Regions from separate parts of the Homo sapiens genome. Here region 1 is linked to region 2. Evidence: promoter capture Hi-C in 16 types of primary human blood cells and fetal thymus (Javierre and others, 2016). All regions are on one chromosome and are shown on one strand. Each heading gives the region's core, a stretch centred on a gene start or on the middle of the fragment in contact. The rest is flanking DNA. Distances are from core to core; before and after follow the strand shown. Region 1 holds the start of LINC02288 (long intergenic non-protein coding RNA 2288). Region 2 holds the start of FOS (Fos proto-oncogene, AP-1 transcription factor subunit).

What was found. The method cuts DNA at HindIII sites, captures the fragments that hold promoters and counts their contacts. A CHiCAGO score of 5 or more calls a contact.
Region 1: a fragment that was not itself captured here is called in contact with the fragment with the promoter of FOS in region 2 in 1 of 17 cell types (M0 macrophages); the score reaches 9.5 in M0 macrophages.

Annotation. Positions count from the first base shown.
Region 1 is chr14:77,040,664-77,046,568 of GRCh38, reverse strand. LINC02288 (long intergenic non-protein coding RNA 2288) reads right to left here and starts at 5,520. Exons shown (of 4, transcript NR_110554.1): 1 at 5,292-5,520. RefSeq lists enhancers at 1,502-2,012, 5,818-5,905, 1,559-5,905, 5,317-5,905. The HindIII fragment of the contact is 1,837 bases long and covers 1,255-3,091 here.
Region 2 is chr14:75,277,386-75,283,306 of GRCh38, reverse strand. It overlaps FOS (Fos proto-oncogene, AP-1 transcription factor subunit), which reads right to left and starts at 4,479. Exons shown (of 4, transcript NM_005252.4): 1 at 4,184-4,479; 2 at 3,179-3,430; 3 at 2,640-2,747; 4 at 1,077-2,524. The coding sequence starts at 4,324. The coding sequence ends at 1,883. RefSeq lists enhancers at 1,490-2,049, 2,050-2,609, 2,636-3,561, 4,148-4,207, 3,562-4,489 and silencers at 4,578-4,637, 4,988-5,077, 5,806-5,921. The HindIII fragment of the contact is 6,704 bases long and covers 1-5,921 here.

The sequences.
Region 1 (5,905 bases), core at 924-3,423, 1.8 Mb before region 2:
AGTGCTGCTGGTAACAGTCTTCAAACTAACGGGGCGAGGAGAGCTGGGAGCTGTGTCCTCTAGTTTCTATCACCACAACCCTCTGATTGTTTCACCTCTCCTGAGGTTCTCCTGGCCACAGTGGGTGCAGCAGCCCTACCATTGCAGAGTGGCTGGCAGCTCTGCCCTCGCCCAGGGCATTCTCCTTAAGGAGCAACTTCTGTCTCCTTTGCCCGTGAACCAACCTGAATGAAGTGTATTTCCAGGAAATATAAGCTGCCTTTGCTTTCAAGAGTCACATCTGGCCAGGTGCAATGGCTCACGCCTGTAATCCCAGTACTTTGGGAGACCAAGGTGAGCAGATCACCTGAGGTCAGAAGTTTGAGACCAGCCTGGCCCAATGGTGAAACCCCATCTTTACTAAAAATACAAAAATTAGCCAGGCATGGTGGCGTGCGCCTGTAATCCCAACTACTCGGGAGGCTGAAACAGGAGTATCACTTAAGCCCAGGAGGTGGAGATTGCAGTGAGCCAGATCATGCCACTGCACTCCAGCTTGGGCGACAGAGCAACACCCTGTTTCAAAAAAAAAAAAAAAAGCCACATCTATCAGTGATGGGTCCTGCAGGTCCCCCTTGCTCTTGTACCTCATCTATGCACACCTCCCCAGTAGCTTTCTGGTTTTGTGTATAGACAGATGTTTCTGATATATGCGTGCATGCAGTTCTGTGTGTGTTTTCTGGGCTCAAAAGCATCTGCGCTGGCACAGGCTGAAGGCTGGCACCACCCTTGGCAGCAATAGCCCAAGGACACTTTTTTGTCCATTGCATTCCATGTCTGGGTGGGGCCCCTGCCTGCTGGGTAAGTATTGACTCCCTGCACTTTTCCATCTATATCTTGGAGTGTTCTTTTGGCAGAAACTACAAGTGCTGCTAACTTGAGAGTCCAAACCCCAGCACCCAGCTGTTCTCAGCATATCTCCCTGAGATGGGGTGCTTGGGCTCACGGACTGACATCATGGCAGCTGCCATAATAAAACACTGAAGGGGTGGGGAACAGGCAGGCTCACTAAGCCACACCTTGCTTTCAGAACTTTTGGATGTCCACAGATCTTTTTAGCACTGTCTGCCCTCTTTTGTGGCTGCATTCTTGCACAAGACCTGGTTGCCCCTAGCTTCGTCTCTCTGAAAAACATGTTCAGCTCCCTCCAGAGAAAACTCAGAAACTCCTATGCATTTTCCTGGAATCATTCTATAGCTCCAGCCTGGGAAAGCTTCCAAAAGTTTCCTGAACCAAAGATAATAATAATAAAAGAGGTGAGGGAGGGGAGAATCGTGGGCACACAATTCTGTTGATTAATGTGCAAGGGAACAGACTAGGATTGTAGGGAAAGGAAAAAGAAAGGCTTTTCCAGGTCAGTTTAAACATTTGTGTTGTCTTCTTTAAAGGCAATTTCAAAATAGTTGGCCTCCCCAAAGCGATTTTTTGGAATCTACCCAGAGGGCAGAAAATGAACCCTTCCTTCCCCCATCTGGAAAGTCTTCACACCAGTGGCCCCACTCATTCCTGAGCTCTGGCTTTAGAAGGACTTTCCCAACCTTCCAAGATTCCCTGCCCTCCCTCACCCGCTGACCTATAGGGAGTTATGTTTGCTCCACCCCAAGCAGCTGCATTCCAGCTGTGGAGCTATTATGAAACATTTAGGAATCCTCTGGCTAGAAAGGTAAATGAGGAATATGCCCTAATGACAGCTGAAGGCTGGCTAAAATCTGTAAACAGAGAAGCAGCAAGGAACAAATGCTTGACAGAGGATTCCCTTTACAATTCTATTGTGCAGAAGAGTCAGCTGTTAACTTACAGAAGACCTTCTAGATGGTCTCACAGATAAAAGTGCTGATCAGCTTGACCCCCTACTGTGAATCGCAAGAAATGAAATTCAAACCTATTTGTGAAGATTCAAAAATATTTTCACTTACTCATGATCTCTCATCTTTTTAATTAAAGCACAACATCTTGCTCAAAACAAGCCTTTGAAACAACAAAATAAACAGAACCTTAATTTAGGGATTTGCCAACTGATCTTGACTACTGCTGGCAGGTTATAGCAGCCAGTTAGAAGCAGAACATGGGGTTCCCTGCCCTTCCGAAGATGGTGTCTGCCTGAGGACTCAGAAAAGAGGGGGGCCACAGAGACCCATGAGGATCCTTGAAATACACAGAAGTTGGCCAGACAGGGCAGGGCTGAGCAAATGGCTTTTTAGGCAGCTGAGGCCCTCTGCAGCTGTCAGAACAACTGCCACCAAGCTCTCCTGGTTGAGGTTGCAGCAAGTGCTGCAGTGTTGACCTTATCTTCCGAGACTGCGTTGTGGACACTCAGGTTAACGGCAGTCCACCTTACTATCTAGTTCTAGAACAGTCAGCGGCACCTGCCTAGCTACACGCTGTCTCACCCAAACCATTTCATTTCCTGGGTCTTGCGATTCTGGACTTTTCCACTAGCAACAACTGCCATCCAGCCAGACAGCAACAATGAACCACCACAGGTATGCTTTGAGAATCCAGTATCCAGGGTGGGGAACTCCATATAATCCTCCATTCACGCATGGTGCTAAAAGCAGATATGGAGAATTAGTAGAAGAGGTGCCCTGTGTCCCAGGGGGCCGCCCAGCCACAGTGAAAGCATCTCTCTCTCCCCACTTCTTCCTGCTCCAGTCGTTCTACCTCAAACACTCCCTACAGAGCACCTTTTAACACCTCTGGAGCCACCACTGCCACGTCACCCCTCACCCCCACCCACTGGCCTAACCACCCAATTCTCAGCCAGGTCTTTTGCAGAGCACAGCCTCCATGGTTGCCATGGAGGGTTTCTCCCCCCAGCAGTACCCCTTGGGGCTTTGAGACCCTATAAGGAAAGCACCAGGAAACCCCAAAACATTCTCCCTCCTGAAAACAATGGTTCCCAGTGTCTATGCCAGACACACTCACACCACCCAAAATAGACTCATTGTCCTCTTGCACAACATCCAGGAATTTGGTGAAACTCATCATTTTTCAGGTTACCGATAATGCAAGTTTGGAAACTGAAACAGGAAGGAACACAGGCTGAAAAGCTTTTATCCAGCCCACAGCATTTCTCTCTCCAGATGCAAGATAGTTTTTTTTTTTTTTTTCCCAGCAGTACTTTGGTGGGGTTAAAATTAGCTGGCAGCATTCTGGTCACATGCTAGACAACAAAACAAAAGGGAGTTGTTCCCCCTGCCGCTCCTGAACTGGCCCACGACAGAGTTTCCTAATCCATGGATTTCTGGGAAGCTGGCTCTCCGGGCCCTGGTATGGAGGGGCTACACCAAGGACTCCCCTCCGGTTATCATCCCTGCTATAATGGGGCGACACAGACGAGGTCAAGGCTGTTTGGAATCTTGGAGCTTGCCTCGATCTGGAAAGGCACTCAAGGGTCCAAAATGGCTTTTGTAAATCTTCTCACCAAAGCCAACAAAGAAGCAAACACTACAAAAACACTGAGAGAGAGAAGGGTAACATCTGACACATGAACATGGGCATCCATTGACTTGTGGGGTGGTGGCTGCTCTTGGCATGATTAAAAAAAAAATAGCCGGGTGTGGTGGCTCATGCCTGTAATCCCAGAAACTTTGGGAAGCTGAGGAGGGCAGATCGCCTGAGGTCAGGAGTTCGAGACCAGCCCGGCCAACATGGCAAAACCCTGTCTCTACTAAAAATACAAAAAAAGTAGCCAGGCATGATAGCACGTGCCTGTAATCCCAGCTACTCGGGAGGCTGAGGCAAGAGAATTGCTTGAACCCGGGAGGCGGAGGTTGCAGTGAGCTGAGACTGCCCCACTGCACTCCAGCCTGGGCGACAGAGGAAGACACCGCCTCAAAAAACAAAACAAAACAAAAATAAATAAATATAATACATCTGGGCTAGAGGTGGCGAACATTTAGGATAGATTCTGTATCTCTTGACCTTGATGACAGGGACATGTCAGGGTCTGCTTTGTTCATCCAGCTTAAAACTGTCACCAGAAGCCCTGGATAAAAATGCAGCCTCTGATTCACACACGGTCAGGAAACATGCCTTGTGCTCAGTACAGAAACATGTCCGTCAACCTGGGAAAGGAATCACCACCACGAAATATGCTTTTGGCTTGCCAAAGCTTAGCAGCTGTGAGAGCCAAAAACCCAGCTGCCTGGACTGTCTGGGGAAGTTGGCGGGAGGGAGGGGGGGTTGCTTTCTGAATCACCTGATTTCTGCCTCTAACTCTAGTTTAATTCCAAGTCGAAACCTATCTTGAAATGTCTCAAGAGCCTACTGCTCCTAAAAATTGTAGGTTTTAGCTAACCCTTCAGCTCTGTGCCTGCTGGCAAGGTGAAGCAGATGGCGTTTGTTGATTATTTATTTGGAAGGGGCTACTTTGGAATCAGGAAATTCCAGCGAGACAGAGTGCATCGCCTTGGCCAGAGCTGCCGTGACAATCACGAGCAGACACCCAGAGACAGTCAAGTTCAAAGAAATTGCAGCTAAGCCCCAGGAACTTGGGGCATTTTCAGTCTTTCTCGTCTCCTGGCCTCCATGTTCACCATGCACTTAGGAAGAAATGTTTCGTTCAGTTCAACATTCTGTGGTCTTCAAGTGTTTGAATACAAGGGCCCACATTCAAGGTCCCGCTTTGTCAAAAGGGCTTCACGAAGCTAACAGGCCTCTGACTTGTGTTTCATCCTGAAGCCCCTCATTATACAGACAGATCAAAACAGAAATCCCCCCTGCCTTAATGCCCAGCACATAAAGTCCTCTTTAATTAACATACACCATTTTTCAGTGAAACAGCCTCAAGGTGTTAAAAGTGCATAAAGGTCTGAAAGCTGAAGCCCAAGATAAACAGTGTGCCGAAATATATTTAGCAGAAAATATTGAAAGCCACAGGAAAAATAAGTTCCCTTCCTGGGATGTTAACGAATGTTTAGGTTCAGGAAACCTTCAGGAAGTAGCGAGCCGAGAAGGAATACTGCTCACCGTTTTTACCCCCAATGTAAATAAATCACTAAACCTCTTTGGTTTCCATAGGCCTGGGCTGGAGTGGAATATTTCATTTTTTCCCCATTAAACAGGCCACCCGGAGTGTTGGCATTACAGGCCTGAAAATATACCAAATCTGAATGTGCTATTTTGTTTCTGTACATTAAATCAGACTGTGTTTCAAACGGCAGTTCGTGCTAAATGGGGGGCTGATGATCCAGACTGTGCACCCTCACACACCTGAAATTGGCGCAGCGTAAATGATAGATCTGTTTCACCTTGGATCTCCCCGTGTCTTGTCTCCTACAGGAACACACCCTCTGTCGTTGTTGCCCAAGGTGATGTCATGTTCATTCTAAAGGCCGCGGTTCCAAGGGGACTACACCACAAGAAGATGCCTTCAGAAAGACCCAGATTTCCTGCGGTCTCAGGTAGGCGGCAGGGAGCAAGAGAACAAGGAAAGGACCCGCCACCACTCTCCCCAAGATGGATGCTGCATGATGTAAGTGGCTGGCTAAAATATCTGGCATCCTTGCAGTTTTAAGTTGCCAGCTAAATATTATTAAAAAGATAAAATACACGCAAACTGTGCAGAATGCAGGGCTGCTGTGTTTACATCCGGGTTTTGATGACTCAAAGACTTACACTTGAGCTTGCTGAAAAGCCTCTATTAAAAATACCGCTTTGTGAAAGCCCCCAGGGAGCAGGAAGAAAGCTGGGGGTGTGAAAGAGGAGAGCGGGAGGATGGTGACCCACCCAAGGACGGCGCTGACACCTGTGCTCCGGGCTGGCACTTAAGGCCAAGGAAGTGCTTAGAGGTTAACCTCCTCTCACCCTCGGAACCAGAGCGGGGAGGGTTAACCTTTTTCCAGAACATTTATTTCACCATCTC
Region 2 (5,921 bases), core at 3,230-5,729:
CTTTTTGTTTGCAGAACGATCAGCCATTATTTGTGCTGTTTGAGATATCTTTTGATTTCTGAGCAACTTTTTCTCCCCCACTTCCGCCCACTATAAACTGAATGAAGGGCATATGGTATTAGAGAAACCAGAAACCACAATGCATTTATTAATAAGGGATAGGGCAATAGCCCTCCTTCCCTTTCGAGAATAAAAGAGTACAAAAAAATGTACACATTAGTGAAAACTTTTTTTTTTAAACAGAGTTTCAATCTTGTTGCCCAGGCTGGAGTGCAATGGCGCAATCTCAGTTCGCTGCAACATCCGCCTCCCGAGTTCAAGTGATTTTCCTGTCTCAGCCTCTCAAGTAGCTAGGATTACAGGCATGCACCACCACACCAGGCTAATTTTGTATTTTTAGTAAAGACGGGGTTTCTCCATGTTGGTCAGGCTGGTCTCGAACTCCCGACCTCAGGTGATCCGCCTGCCTCGGCCTCCCAAAGTGCTAGGATTACAGGCATGGGCCACCGCGCCCGGCCTGAAAATTTTTTTTAACCAAGTATCAAGAGGCAGTTCAGCCTGCTGGATACGATAACGAGCAGGAAGATTCTAATGCCGATAACGGAATATCAAGAAAGTTGTTTATTCTAACCATTCTTCAATTTGCTCATCTTTGAAGTAGAATAACCCTCCACGTGATTTTGTGAGAATAAAAAGTTAAAATAGTCTGTACAAAGCTAGGTTCTGTTTGCTTAAAGGGTTCCTTTAAGATCAAAACATCTGAATTTAATATTAGCACAACAAAATTTAAATATTTCCCCCTGCGAGTACTGAAACAGAAAAAATGTATTCCCACAAAAGCTGTTACACAGCGGTTTCCCGTCCCCAGAAGCAGTAGAAAATCTTAGCATTCCAATGGAAGGCATGTATTTGTAAAATATTCTAAAATCAGCTCTATAGTTTCCTTGTCCTCTTTGATAAGGGATCAGACAGAGGGTGTGTCCCCCTCCAGCAGCTACCCTTCTTGACAAACTGGTCTCCAATAATACCTTTCAGAAACTTACAAGACTTCCAGAATGAAAAGAGCACAAGGTTGGTCGCATTCAACTTAAATGCTTTTATTGACAATGTCTTGGAACAATAAGCAAACAATGCTTAAATTTTTCATTCAAATTCACTTTCCACATGTCAAAAGACCTCAAGGTAGAAAAAAATAAAATAAAAATATAAATATCTGAGAATCCATCTTAATAAATAAATTAAAAACACAATAAAACGTTTTCATGGAAAACTGTTAATGTCAGAACATTCAGACCACCTCAACAATGCATGATCAGTAACATTACAATGAACATTGATGTTGAAGAAAAACTACAGTACATGGATATAGCTATTTATTTCTATCTACCAGAAAATAAAGTCGTATCTTTTCTTAGTATAATATTGGTCATTTCTAATCAGAACACACTATTGCCAGGAACACAGTAGTTATTGTTAAAATCAGCTGCACTAGATACAATTTGAAAATATCCAGCACCAGGTTAATTCCAATAATGAACCCAATAGATTAGTTAATGCTATGAGAAGACTAAGGAGAAAGAGAAAAGAGACACAGACCCAGGCCTGGCTCAACATGCTACTAACTACCAGCTCTCTGAAGTGTCACTGGGAACAATACACACTCCATGCGTTTTGCTACATCTCCGGAAGAGGTAAGGACTTGAGTCCACACATGGATGCTTTCAAGTCCTTGAGGCCCACAGCCTGGTGTGTTTCACGCACAGATAAGGTCCTCCCTAGGTCTACAGGAACCCTCTAGGGAAGATGTGTTTCTCCTCTCTGTAATGCACCAGCTCGGGCAGTGGCACTTGTGGGTGCCGGCTGCCTCCCCTTCCCTGCCCCCTCACAGGGCCAGCAGCGTGGGTGAGCTGAGCGAGTCAGAGGAAGGCTCATTGCTGCTGCTGCCCTTGCGGTGGGCAGCTGCACAGCTGGGGAAGGAGTCAGCCTCGGGGTAGGTGAAGACGAAGGAAGACGTGTAAGCAGTGCAGCTGGGAGTACAGGTGACCACCGGAGTGCACAGGGGCTCCAGCTCTGTGGCCATGGGCCCCATCCCCAGGGAGCCACTGTGCAGAGGCTCCCAGTCTGCTGCATAGAAGGACCCAGATAGGTCCATGTCTGGCACGGAGCGGGCTGTCTCAGAGCCACTGGGCCTGGATGATGCTGGGAACAGGAAGTCATCAAAGGGCTCGGTCTTCAGCTCCATGCTGCTGATGCTCTTGACAGGTTCCACTGAGGGCTTGGGCTCAGGGTCATTGAGGAGAGGCAGGGTGAAGGCCTCCTCAGACTCCGGGGTGGCAACCTCTGGCAGGCCCCCAGTCAGATCAAGGGAAGCCACAGACATCTCTTCTGGGAAGCCCAGGTCATCAGGGATCTTGCAGGCAGGTCGGTGAGCTGCCAGGATGAACTCTAGTTTTTCCTTCTCCTTCAGCAGGTTGGCAATCTCGGTCTGCAAAGCAGACTTCTCATCTTCTAGTTGGTCTGTCTCCTGTATACAGAGGGATAAAGGAAAGCATAAGACACAGTCTTACTCAAGGGCCCTTATGCTCAATCTCCAACTTTCCCCTTAAGTTTTAAAAAGGAGCAACCCACAGAGTACCTACCGCTTGGAGTGTATCAGTCAGCTCCCTCCTCCGGTTGCGGCATTTGGCTGCAGCCATCTTATTCCTTTCCCTTCGGATTCTCCTTTTCTCTTCTTCTTCTGGAGATAACTAGAATAATCACAAAAAAAGACCGACATTCAGTAAAAGTGTCTGCCATCACCTCCATTCACCCACCCCAGTAGAACTGGCTCCTGCAGCTTCCCTGCTTCCTGGCACCCCACTGTGAAACCATTTCTGACCTGCAGTTGCAGACTAGGTGTGACTTGCATTTAAAATAAGATCCTCAGCAAGAGAACAAAGAAGAGCCCAGTCTGAAAGCATGCGGTAAGAAACTTAGGGAAGAAACTATGAGAGTACTTCTTAGGGTGAGACTCAGAGTCTGAGTTGGGATGGAATGGGCTTGGAGCCAGGGCTCCCAGTTACGGATGTGCAGCCAGCCCCATCAGTGGCTTCATCCTCTGTACTGGGCTCCTGCATCTCCGGGGCTGCTTCCCACCCAGCCCCCACATTCCCAGGAAGAGTACGCTAGAGTTCCTCACCTGTTCCACCTTGCCCCTCCTGCCAATGCTCTGCGCTCGGCCTCCTGTCATGGTCTTCACAACGCCAGCCCTGGAGTAAGCCCCAGCGGAGGGGGCGGGGACTCCGAAAGGGTGAGGGGCTCTGGTCTGCGATGGGGCCACGGAGGAGACGAGGGCGGGCTGCACCAGCCACTGCAGGTCCGGACTGGTCGAGATGGCAGTGACCGTGGGAATGAAGTTGGCACTGGAGACGGCCAGGTCCGTGCAGAAGTCCTAGAACAAAACAGAAGGGGAAAGCCGACGTGAGCGAGCAGGTTCCGGACACAGGTGGGGCGAGTTCCCAGTGCCGCATGCAGCAGTGAAGAGAAACGATCCTGCCACGGACATTTCATCTTAAATGTCCCTCATCCTGGATGAAAGGTCTCCCCCTTTTCCTCCCAGGCATTCCGCAGCGCAGTGCCTGTCTCTTCCATCCTGCCGCTGCGTTCCCGTTATCCCTTCAGCATCACTTGCTTGAAAGGGGGTTTGTTATAAATATCCCTGACGTCTGCGCTGACGCAGGCGCCGCTCCGGAGTCTCCAGAATGAACTCGCTTTTTATCAATGAAACTGCCTTACACACCCGCCCGCTGCACCCTCCTCCCTCATCCCTCCTCCGTGCTCCAGGCTGCCGGGGGAGGGGGGATTGCCGCTTTCTGCCACCTCCCCGGAGAAGCCAGGCTCTAGTTAGCGAGTTTGTGCTTGGGACACGTCTGCTCCAGCTAATGTCAGAGATCCGTCCTGGAGTGCAGACCAGAGGTTGCTCAGAACGAACCTGCCTCCCGAAGGGGGAACCAATTCTTACTATGGCAAGCGTGCGTGCGCTCAGAGCAAGTCCCGAGCCCCCGAGCCGGCACCGCTCCGGCCACGGCAGCCTCCCTCCAGGCACAAGGGAGCCCCCTACTCATCTACTGGAGCGTCCCGCCCGGTGTCTCCTCCTCCGCGACCCCAAGCCCCCGGCCCCGCGGCGACGGGAAGCCAGCCTTACCTGCGCGTTGACAGGCGAGCCCATGCTGGAGAAGGAGTCTGCGGGTGAGTGGTAGTAAGAGAGGCTATCCCCGGCCGGGGACGCGCTGCTGCAGCGGGAGGATGACGCCTCGTAGTCTGCGTTGAAGCCCGAGAACATCATCGTGGCGGTTAGGCAAAGCCGGGCGAGGGGCCGAGGGGCGGAGACAGGTGGGCGCTGTGGAGCAGAGCTGGGTAGGAGCACGGTCACTGCTCGTTCGCTGCGCCGCGGCCGCCGGCTCAGTCTTGGCTTCTCAGATGCTCGCTGCAGATGCGGTTGGAGTACGAGGCGCCGCAGCCACTGCTTTTATAACAAGCGTTTTATGAATGAGTGTAAACGTCACGGGCTCAACCACGGTGGCGCCAGAGGGGTGGCGCGCGGGCCTGGGCGCTTCTGCGGCCGCCCGGCTGCGTCCCCAGCGCTCGCAGCTCCCTGCCCCCGCCTTGGCGCGTGTCCTAATCTCGTGAGCATTTCGCAGTTCCTGTCTCAGAGGTCTCGTGGGCCCCCCAAGATGAGGGGTTTCGGGGATGGCTCCCCCCAGGGCTACAGGGAAAGGCCGTGGAAACCTGCTGACGCAGATGTCCTAATATGGACATCCTGTGTAAGGGGGGAGGGATTGACGGGAACTGCTCGCGGGCTGCAGCCAACACCGAGGGTGCAGTGCGGGGGGAGGCGGGGGCCGCGGCTGGGGGAGGGGAGGCGGGAACGGCGCAGAATGAGAGAGAACATTCGCACCTGGTTCAATGCGGACCCTTGTTCCCGAGGTCGGGGGGGATGGGGCAGAGAGCGCCTTTTTACCCTTGTACGGAAACTGAAGACAGTTCTGAGGCTCAGAGATAGGAGAAACGGCATCGAGTACAGGACCCCGAGGACTTAAGCCTCGGCTCCCGAAGGAATGCGCCCCTACCCCCATCCCCAATTCTAGCCCTAATTCAGTGCAAAGCGTGGAAGCAGACCTTCATCCCCTAACCTCCAGCCCTCGGGCTCGAGCAATACTAGCACTGTTCCTGCGTTTGGAAGCAGAAAGTGGAGGATCCAAAATAAGAGAATACGATAACCTACTTTACGATACTGGGTACTTTATTTATTTATTTTTTTAAAGAAGACAGCGCATTTATTTATTTATTTTTCTCGGCCATGTGTGGGAATATTAAGGAAACTGTCAAATCCCTGAGACACCAGCAGATAAACACTGTGCAAAACCTACGTGCGAAGACATTTGAAGGGGGTGTCTGCCCGGTTCTGAGCTGGGCCCCAGGGGTAGGGAGTGCGAGGTGTGGTTATGTGGGCAGGGTGGTCAGTTCGGGATGACAAGGCGGGGTGTGCTTCCTGCGGGGAACTCAAATCTGCGCTGAGGGCTGGTTCGGTCCCGCCAGGAAGCTGTGCTTACGGGAGCCCGCAGCGGGTGATTTTCCAGCGCGGACTTGGAGGGTGGAGGACGGGGGCTGGAAGGACAGTGTCCAGCTGCGCCTGGGCGGAATACCTCGACTGCTGGGACCCCAGGAGCGGCTCCACGTCCTGGAACACGGGGCTTTGGGGAGGCAAGGTGCTCCAGAGTGTGCCACGCCCCCCAATCTCCTGCCCTGCTGCGTAGGACAGCCGGGGTCACGCTGCCGGGGCTCAGCCCCAGCGCGCTGGCCACCTCCAGGGCGCGAAGACGCATGTCCCCGCACAGCCCCGGTCTTCCCTTCTCCACTCTTCGGGCCCGGGGGTCGGGGCC